3 separate regions of the Homo sapiens genome follow, and all the other regions are linked to region 1. Evidence: promoter capture Hi-C in 16 types of primary human blood cells and fetal thymus (Javierre and others, 2016). All regions are on one chromosome and are shown on one strand. Each heading gives the region's core, a stretch centred on a gene start or on the middle of the fragment in contact. The rest is flanking DNA. Distances are from core to core; before and after follow the strand shown.

The links. Contacts are between HindIII fragments. The CHiCAGO score rates a contact against its expected background, and 5 or more counts as called.
Region 2: a contact is called between a fragment that was not itself captured here and the fragment with the promoter of ZBTB46 in region 1, in 2 of 17 cell types (monocytes and M1 macrophages). The highest score is 7.5, in monocytes.
Region 3: a fragment that was not itself captured here is called in contact with the fragment with the promoter of ZBTB46 in region 1 in 1 of 17 cell types (monocytes); the score reaches 6.1 in monocytes.

What each region holds. Positions count from the first base shown.
Region 1 is chr20:63,829,949-63,833,117 of GRCh38, forward strand. It overlaps ZBTB46 (zinc finger and BTB domain containing 46), which reads right to left and starts at 1,316. Exons shown (of 5, transcript NM_001369741.1): 1 at 1,149-1,316. RefSeq lists a silencer at 1,334-1,473. The HindIII fragment of the contact is 15,017 bases long and covers 1-3,169 here.
Region 2 is chr20:63,609,540-63,612,803 of GRCh38, forward strand. All of the region lies in intron 2 of GMEB2 (glucocorticoid modulatory element binding protein 2), which reads right to left. Among named protein-coding and RNA genes, the nearest start is that of GMEB2, 16 kb to the right of the region's middle. RefSeq lists an enhancer at 954-1,123. The HindIII fragment of the contact is 1,398 bases long and covers 1,311-2,708 here.
Region 3 is chr20:63,593,512-63,596,768 of GRCh38, forward strand. GMEB2 (glucocorticoid modulatory element binding protein 2) reads right to left here. Exons shown (of 10, transcript NM_012384.5): 6 at 2,099-2,256. Among named protein-coding and RNA genes, the nearest start is that of HELZ2, 21 kb to the left of the region's middle. The HindIII fragment of the contact is 6,029 bases long and covers 1-3,257 here.

The DNA of each region.
Region 1 (3,169 bases), core at 66-2,565:
CCGCGCGCTAAACACGTTTCTAATTAGCATTTCTTTAAACAATGCTGATCACAATCTTGCCACCGTAATCCACTCCAAATGCATCGTTGAGATTGCAGCACGGAAAGCGAGAGAGGAAATTCGCTGCGAATCTCAAACTTTCTTTTGTTTATATTTCTTCGCTGTCAGAAAATATCCGTTCTTCGCCCCATCTGGTCTGTACCCTGGCTCCTCGGTCCAGCCCTATTGTGTGTGCTTCGTTAAACCTACAAACAGTGAATCTGTCAGCGGGGCCAGGGGAACCCCAACTAGCAGGAGCCCTCCCTCTGGCGCAGAGAATTCCCCGTTTGCCTTAGGGATTGAGTTGTCAGACACCGGCTCGCGCTCCCCCGCGAAACTGACATGTCTATTTACAGAGAAACAAAGACGCGGCTCGCAGCGGACCCCGCTTCCTCCGCGCGCCCCGTCCGCCCCGCGCGCCCCGAGCCCTCCGCGCCCCGAGCCGCCCCGCCCCGAGGCCCCTGCGCCCCGGTTCGGCCGGCGATTAAGATGGAGACCAGGCCGGCGCCCGGCGTCCGGGGAGACAATGACCCCCCGGCCTCAGGGCGCCGGGACCCGCCCGCGCCCACCTCCCGCAGTTCCGACTCTTGGCAAACTCGGCGCGGGCGGCTCCGGGTGCGGCTGGGCTGTGCCGGCGGGGGGCGCGGGCGGGGGGCGCCAAGACGCCCCCGGGCTGCCTCGGGGCCAGGCGTTGACGCAGCAGAAATTACCAGCTGGAAAATTCCCCTCTCGGAGGTGCCGGGGAGGGAGCGCGGCGGCGGCGGGAGGTGCCGGGGGCCGAGGGGCCGGGGCAGCCCAGCCGCCTCCGCGCTCAGCCCCGCGGGGAACCCGCGCCGCCCCCGCGCGCCCCGCCCCGCGCCGCCGGCCTGGGGGGCACCCGCGGGGGCCGGGCCGGGGTCTCCGCCGCCGCCCCCGGAGCCCGCGCCGCAGCTGGGAGCGCCGATGGCCCCCGGGAGGGCGCCCCCGCGGGGCGGGGCGTGGCGGGGCGGCCGGCGGCGGGGGCGCGCCCGGGCTCGCAGCGGCCCCGGCTCCCGGCTCCCGGCTCCGGGCCCGGCCCCCGCCGCGATGCGCCCGCCCGGCCGCGCGGACAATGAGCCGGCGCCGCTTACCTGTGACCCCATGGGGCGCGGGCGAGGGCGGGCGCCGCGGCCGCCGGGCCGGCGCCGGTGATCGCCGCCGCCGCCGGGAGGGCGCTGCGTCCGGGCGGGTCCGAGCTGCGCGCTCGCCGGGGCTGCTCGGTCCGTCCGTCCGTCCGTCGGTCCGTCAGGCCGGCGCGCGCCCCCGCGCCCGCTCCAACCCCGCGGCCCCCGCCGCCCGCGCGCGCGCGCCCCGCCCGCGGACCCTGACCCCGCCCCCCGGCGCGCGCCCGGCCGCCGCTGATTGGCCCGCGCCGCGCCCCGGCCGCGGCCACCGCCCCGGGCCCCGCCCACGCCGGCCCGGCCGCCGGCCCCGCCCCTCGCTCGGCTCCCGGCGCCGCGCCGCGGGGTCGCAGGGGGCCGCGCCGGGGGTCCGTTCTCCCCCCCGCGGGCAGCCGGACAGCGGAAGTGCGGGCTGGAGCTCGCTGGGCATTGTGGGAAGCCCCCTCCCCTGGGCTGGCGGGGGGCTGGGGCGGCGCGGCGCGGGGGTCCCCCTGGCCCCCGCTGCGCCCTTGCCCCGCGAGCGCGGAGCAGCCTGGAAACACCCCACGGGAGCGGCGACCCCGGCGAGGGCACCCGCTCCCTTCCCGGGCCGCGCACCGGGCGCTGCCCACGCGCAGGTTCCTCGGGGGCGCGCGGGTGCCCAGGTCACCGGCCGTCCCCGCGCCTGACGCGCGGTTGCACTGCGCGCGTCTCGCAAACTTGGCGACTCCCCCAGCCCGGCCGGGCATCAACGCGGGCCGCTCGCGGTGCGGAAAAGGCGCCCCCAAGGAAGGCCGCCCGGGGTGCGGGGTCTGGAAGGGCCTGGGCACCGCGCGCGCCTACCCTCGGGGGCCTCGGCGCACCCGGAGATCGGCGCACCTCGGGCGCAGGCCTCGTGGGGGTGCCCGCCAGTGGGGCTCGCTTTTGGCTGACTAGGGGCACCGGCGGCCGCGCGTGGGTCCCTCCCGTCGTGTTGTCTGCGGGGGACGAATGGCTCCGGGAGGGGGCGGGAACCAGCGGCCCGGGCCTCGCCCCAGCCCGTGTGCAGCCCCGATCCGAACGGCCTGGGACGCGTCTCCACCACTCGGCGCCCGGACTCTGCGCGTCGCTTCTCGCCTCCGCCGTCCTCAGCCCTCGGGCGGGTAGAGTGGGAAGCGCGGCCCCGCATTCCTGGCCGGCCTGCGCAGGGGTAAAGGCCACCTCGCTTCCTCTCCCCGGGCGCGGCGGGAAGGGAGGTGAGCCTGTGGCCGGCAGCCGCGCGAGGGAGTCGAGCCCGGCCCGGCCAACCAATGGGGAGGCGCCCGGGCCGTCCAGCCTGCCTCCCTGCGGGCCCAGCGCAGCGGATTCCTCGGGAGGTGGGAGGCGGCGGCCCTATGGGTGCTTTCAAATCTGGATGTGTGAGGCGCATTCAGGAGCGGCAGTGGGAGGCGGCTGAGGGCTCTCCATGAGTGAGCAAAGGCGAAGCGAGGTGTGGCTGCCGGGACCAACGCCTGGGACACTCCCTTACTGCCGTCGCGGGCGCCTGGAAATGGCTGTGCGGACACCCCGTTCCCATCCCCTCGCCAAGGTCGCCGGGATGGCACTGCGGCCCAGGAAGCCCCGTCGCCGGCCTACCTCGCGCGGCACCCTCTCGGTGGCACTGCCTGCTCTGGTCTGAAACTGTAGCCCCAGCCTCACCGACCTTCGGGAAGTGGGGGCTGAGCACAACCACCCTGAGAAGAGGCGGCTTCCAGGAGGGTCTGGCGGGTCACGTGCATCCCCCTTGGAGAAAACAGCACTGCCTGCAGGAGCCCCCACCTGCCCACCCAGAGCCCAGTTGTACCCCACGGAGGAAAGGAGGCCTGGGGAGACAGGAGAGCTCGGGCCCACCGAGCCAAAGCAAGGAGGACCAGAGCCCTGATGCCTGCCCCAAGGGCCTCCCGCAGAGCCTGCCCATGCTCTCTTGCGCAAAAGAGAACCCCAGTCTCTCCCAAGATGTCTGGACCTCCCTAGACAGCCTCCAAGGAGAGCAG
Region 2 (3,264 bases), core at 760-3,259, 220 kb before region 1:
TGCCCCTCTGACCTCACCTCCATTTCTAGAAACATGCCCCTCTGACCCACCTCCATTTCTAGAAACATGCCCCTCTCACCCCACATCCATTTCTAGAAACATGCCCCTCTGACCCACCTCCATTTCTAGAAACATGCCCCTCTGACCCACCTCCATTTCTAGAAACATGCCCCTCTGACCCACACCTCCATTTCTAGAAACATGTCCCTCTGACCCCACCTCCATTTCTAGAAACATGCCCCTCTGACCCCACCTCCATTTCTAGAAACATGCCCCTCTGACCCACACCTCCATTTCTAGAAACATGCCCCTCTGACCTCACCTCCATTTCTAGAAACATGCCCCTCTGACCCACACATCCATTTCTAGAAACATGCCCCTCTGACCCCACCTCCATTTCTAGAAACATGCCCCTCTGACCCCACCTCCATTTCTAGAAACATGCCCCTCTGACTCCACCTCCATTTCTAGAAATTAATCCTGCAGACATGGTGTTCCCACACTGGCATGAGGGTTGTCTGAAACAGGGAACAAGTCTCCAGTTTCTGGAACCCGTGCGGGCAGCTGCCTCTGGGGAGATGATGTGGAGAAGCTGGGAGAGGTCTGGGTGGGGTTCCCAGCTGTGCACCTCATAACAGCCAACTGTATGATGTGTGCACTTCTAAACTTCCAGAAGTTTGCTTAAAAACACACGCACACCAGCCGGGCACGGTGGCTCACACCTGTAATCCCAGCACTTTGGGAGGCCGAGGCAGGCGGATCACAAGGTCAGGAGATCGAGACCATCCTGGCTAACACGGTGAAACCCCGTCTCTACTAAAAATACAAAAAATTAGCCGGGCGTGGTGGCGGGCGCCTGTAGGCCCAGCTACTCAGGAGGCTGAGGCAAGAGAATGGCGTGAACCCGGGAGGTGGAGGTTACAGTGAGCCGAGATCGCGCCATTGCACTCCAGTCTGGGCGACAGAGTGAGAATCTGTCTCAAAAAAAGAAAACAAAACAAAAAAAACATGTAGCAAGAGGAAGTCTCAATTTCCAGATGGTAGAAGAACAGATTTAATTCCCCACAAAAAAGAAGAGGATCTTTAAGTCCTTCAAGACAGCCCTGCCTCAGCTGCCACGTGGGGTTCTCTTCTCAGAGAAGAAGGCGCATGCAGACTCTCCACTGCTCCATAAGCCACTGTCCCGCGAGGGCAGAGCCTTGGCGTCCTGGCAAAGCAACTGCAGACTGAAAAATGCCCTCTGGTCCTTCATGGCTCCCTCCATCAAGACAGGGGGCTATTTCCCACCCCCTCCACTTGACTTTGGGCCAAGCTTTGAAGAGCTTTGACCAAGAGGCTGTGACGAGGCCCTACGAGGACTCTGGCTCTCCTCCTGCTAAGCACACCCAGGCAGGTGTCCTGGCAGATGAGGACCACATGCAGAGCCTCGGCCAGCCCACCAATGCCCGGATATGCAAGTGAGCCCAGCCTGGACCCCCCGGCGAGGCCCAGCAGCACCAGCCCAGGCCCGAAAACCTTAAGAAATGACCAGTGTCTGCTGCTTTAAGCCACCAAGCTCTGCGGTGGTTTGTTAGGCTGCAAGCATGGCTAATTCAGAAACTGCCAGAAACAAGCACTGCTGTCCCCAGCCTGGGACACACAGCACCGCCTCTGCGTGGGGAGAGGGCACAGGCTAAGGGCACAAATGCCATCCCAGACCCGGCTCTTGTGTGTGGAAGGGGCCACTGTGCCATGAGGCAGAGGAAACCTTGGCAGGACCTTATGCCACAGCAATTTAAAAGAGAAGAAACAGGCTGGGCGTGGTGGCTCATGCCTATAATCCCAGCACTTTGGGAGGCCAAGGTGGTGGATCACTTGAGGTCAGGAGTTCAAGACCAGCCTGGCCAATATGGTGAAACCCTGTCTCTACGAAAAATACAAAATTTAGGCAGGCGTGGTGGCGGGTGCCTGTAATCCCTGCTATTCAGGAGGCTGAGGCAAGAGATTTACTTGAACCCGGGAGGTGGAGGCTGCTGCAGTGAGCTGAGATCATGCCACTGCACTCCAGCCTGTGTGACGGAGTGAGACTTGGTCTCAAAAAAAAAAAAGGAAACACATCTGACTAGTGTGATCTCGCAAGGAACATTCCAGACACAGTGGAGCTAGAAGGTTCTTCTCCAAACAAGGAATCCCCAGGGGATCAAATTGTTTTGCATCGGCCAGACATGGTGGCTCAAGCCTGTAACCCCAGTGCTTCGGGAGGCTGAGGTGGGAGGACTGCTTGAGTCCAGGAGTTCAAGACTAGCTTGGGCAACACAGTGAGAGCCCATTAGCCAGGCGTGGTGGCACATGCCTGCAGTCCCAGCACTGTACTAAAAATCTACACGGGGCCGGGCATGGTGGCACATGCCTGTAGAGTCCCAGCTACTCAGGAGGCTGAGGCAGGACGATTCCTTGAACCCAGGAGGTCACGGCTGCCATGAGCCGTGACTGTGCCACTGCACTCCAGTCTGTGCAACAGAACGAGACTCTGTTTCGAAAAACAAAAAATCATTTCATGTCTCCAGTTTCTCCACTGGCAAAAGACTCTGTCAAGGTAAAAAATGGTTCTGACCCACAGAAATCTAAGAAAGGAAAAAATATAAAAAATAGAAAATTTAAAAAAGAGATGGTCTCAGAATAAAGACCAACCTGGGCTATGGTTGTCACTCTTCCCTCACACCTTAGAAAGCTTTCTGGCCGCATCTGGCCAAAGGGCCACCCTGCCCCATCTTGGATCAGTGAGGTGCCTTCGAACAAGCCACCTGCCCTGGAGCCCGTCCTGTCTTGTCTGCCACCGCACGCTCAGTAGGGGAGGGGAAGTCGCTAGGTTTTAGTTCACCAGTCTCTGGATCAAGACGTGCCATAACCAAGAAGCCCCAGCCACACCCAGACCCGACGTGGCCACAAGGGGTGAGCTGGGAAGGCCCAGGAAAAGGCGGGAGGCGGACGAATGGAAATGTCATTCTGTGGCCACAGAAATGATCTCAACGTTTTGTAACTTCCTACCAAGAGGCAGTCTTAGCTCTGCCCTTGAACCAGCACTTGGTGATGTCGCTTGCGTCAATCAAGGCAACAGAAGTGAGCAGGAGGCCCACTTTCCTCTGCAACTGTGGGCTTACGGGGCAAAGAAGTCCAGGCCTCCAGGTGGAGGATCACAGACCGGGCAAAGCAGAGGAGAGCCACCCAGCCGAGCCTACCTGTGCCTCAGACTGCCTCCCTCCAGAGACCCCTGTGGCCAAGGCC
Region 3 (3,257 bases), core at 112-2,611, 240 kb before region 1:
TCAAGTGATGCTTCATTGAAGTCATCATAAATCTCAGTATCTATCATGTTTCCATTTTTCTACACCAGAACAAGTGGGGCTTTGAGAGACAGAAACCGTCCTGGCTCTTCCTGTGGGTCCCTCTCTCGCGCCTGCAGAACACAACTGGGCGTGTCGTTCATATGTGGCCATTTTGGGCGTTGCTGATAGAGACTTTATACACAGATCTGGCTTAAAAAACAAACCCGGGGCCGGATGTGGTGGCTCACGCCTGTAATCCAGGCACTTTGGGAGACTGAGGCGGGTGGATCACCTAAGGTCAGGAGTTCGAGAACAGCCTGGGCAACACGGCAAAACCCCGTCTCTACTAAAATACAAAGTCAACCGGGTGTGGCGGCGTGCGCCTGTAATCCCAGCTACTCGGGAGGCTGAGGCAGGAGAATCGCTAGAACCCGGAAGGCAGAGGTTGCAGTGAGCCGAGATCAGGCCCCTGCACTCCAGCCTGGGCGACAGAGCAGGACTCCTTCTCCAACACCACCACCAACGACCTGGAAGCAGTTGAATGTTTTGGGAATACTGGCCTTTTCCACATTCATCAAAGACATGGCAGTGGTGAGTATGACTCATATTACACATCTGGAATTATTTGGGGCGTGAATGAGTCGTTTTTCCGAGTTGGGGCTGGCACAGCATCTTTTACTAACTGCACAGTAGCCAAGTCAATGGTTCTCAGAGATTGCAGGTTAAAGAACCCAAATCATCTTCAGAAGAGCTGAGCCTCAGCCTAGCTGTGAGGCACTGACTACAGGGCGTGGAAGGCCCAGTTCCTTCCCTGGCAGGCGGTCAGGCAGGGCCAACACTAACGCGGTGGAGCCGCTGGGGAGGCCCTGGGGAGGACAGACAGGAGGCTGGGCTCTACCCAGCCCCTCTGACCACAGCAGCCCAAGTGTCCTGGGCTTCTCAGGACTCAGCACTGAACCTGCCAGGCTGCCCCAGCAGGACGTGGAAGGGGGCCCAGGAGAAGGGTGAGGCCTCCCTAGTGCCCTGGCCTCACTCTCCTACCCAGCGGGACAGGACAGGACTCAACTGGGTCCCACCTGGGCCAACAACAAGGACGTCCCTGGGCACACAGGAACACAATCTGGCCAGCAATGCGGAGTGGCAGCTTAGGGACAATGCATGTGGCATTGCTGGAAACACATCACCAAAGACCACCCAGAGATGTGACCAGGGAGCCCAGGACCTAACTTCACTTTAACTTCAGTTTTTTTGTTTTGAGATGGAATCTCACACTGTCGCCCAGGCTGGAGGGCAGTGGAGCGATCTCAGCTCACTGCAACCTCCGCCTCCTGGGTTCAAGCGATTCTCCTGCCTCAGCCTCCTGAGTAGCTGGGACTACAGGCATGCACCACCACACCCGGCTAACTTCTGTACTTTTAATAGAGACAGGGTTTCATCCTGTTGGCCAGGCTGGCCTCAAGTGATCCACCCGCCTCGGCTTCCCAAAGTGCTGGGGTTACAGGTGTGAGCCACCACACCCAGCCTAACTGTAGTTTTAAGAAAAATTTCTCTATTCATAAAGCTGGAAAGAATTCTAGGGAACAACCTCTCCACAGTTTAGAGCTACAGACACCAACGTGGAACAGTATCTAAAGCGTCACCCAAAAACCCAAGTGGCAGGAATACCTGCAGCAAGGCACCCAGCACGGAAGGCGGGAGCACAGGCGCGCAGTTCCGTAAACCGCCAGGTCAGGAGGGAAGCGGGTCCAGATTTGGGGCTGGGCCGTGGGGGTGGGAGGGAGGGGGCCGGGTGGGCGCCCAGGCACTCTCTGTTACTCGCTATACCCTTCCCCACACGTGAGTTATTATATTACAACCAAAATGGCTTAAAAAGAAAAGTGCTTCAATCTTCCTTGTCAATGAAAGCAGCAATTCTGCCAGATCTCCTCTGTGAGGCAGGAGGAGGCTGATCCCAGACAACTCAGGGTCCCAGGCAGGAGACCGGCAGTCCTGGCGTGAGCAAACGCCTGGGGCCAAGGAGGCCACCCAGGGGCATGTCACCCTCTGTGGCCATGGCCAGGGTGGGGCTGGGTCAGGACGAGCAGCCCTGTGCACCTACCGTCGGCTGCGGCGGGCGTGAGGGGAATGTACTCGGCCGACGTGGGGCTGCTCAGGGACACACGGGCTCCTGAGAGGTCAATCTTTGTGCTGCGGCAGGTGTTGGAGCAGACCTTGTCATGCTGGTAGAAGTCCAGTTCCCCGGAGTCCATGATCTTCCTGTGACAGACAGTGGCATGGAGCGTCCAGGTCGGCCCCAGAGCCGAAGGCACCTGGCCCGCCCACCCTGACCTGGGCCATCCACCTGCGTGGGGCAGGCCTAGCAGAGGCGCTGGCAGCTCCACAGGGCAGGGTGGGCTCTACTTCCCTCTTAGCGCGAGCTCGGCGTGCAGGACCCTGCTGCTGAAGAAGCAGCCGGCCCAGGCCCACGCTACGGCACTGTCCCCAGGAAGGGGGCAAGCGCTGGCCAGTGGGTGTCCTGGAGGTGCCCGTCAGAGTCTGTGGGGCTGGGCCTTTCTGGGATGTCCCACTACCCCAGCCCCAAGGGAGTGACCCACAGCTAACAAAGGTGGGCCCAGTCCACCTGCATCATGCGTGACTCATTCTGAAGCAGAGGAAGGTGGGAAATCACTTCCAGGAGAACCTTCCTCCTTCTAAAGGCACAGAGACAGCCAAGAAGAGTGATGAGGGCGCAGGACAGCACCAACGGCCATGGCTGCCGCTCATCCTCATCTTTACCAGGAAGGCTTCGTACGGCCCAAACTGCTGAGAGCCGCCCTCCCAGGGCCCTCTCTTCTGCCTCTCCGGAGGTCCAGGGTCTCAGTCCTGTGTGTCTCAACGAGCCTGCCTCGACCCATGAAACGAGGGTCAGAGGCTCCAGCCTCATTCAATCTTTGGGCAGCACTGACCTCAGGCACACACAGGCTAATGCTTCTGTGGTCAGCTCAGGACTTGCCTACCTGGCCGGTGGTCCCCACAGCTGTGCCACCAGCCACGTTCCAGAAAATCAGAGGCCAGTTCAGCTGGACAGGGAAAGGACCTGAGCCATGGGAAAGGACCCAGGGCTAGTCACTCGTGAGGTCTCAAACTCTGACTCCAGCACAAAGCAGGGGCCCTCCTTGGGAAGCAAGGTAGAGGCCAGGCCCACAAAGACTGAGACTGAGGCTTATGATTCACAGATAAGTGAAGGCCGGGCACGGTGGCTCATGCCTGGAATCCCA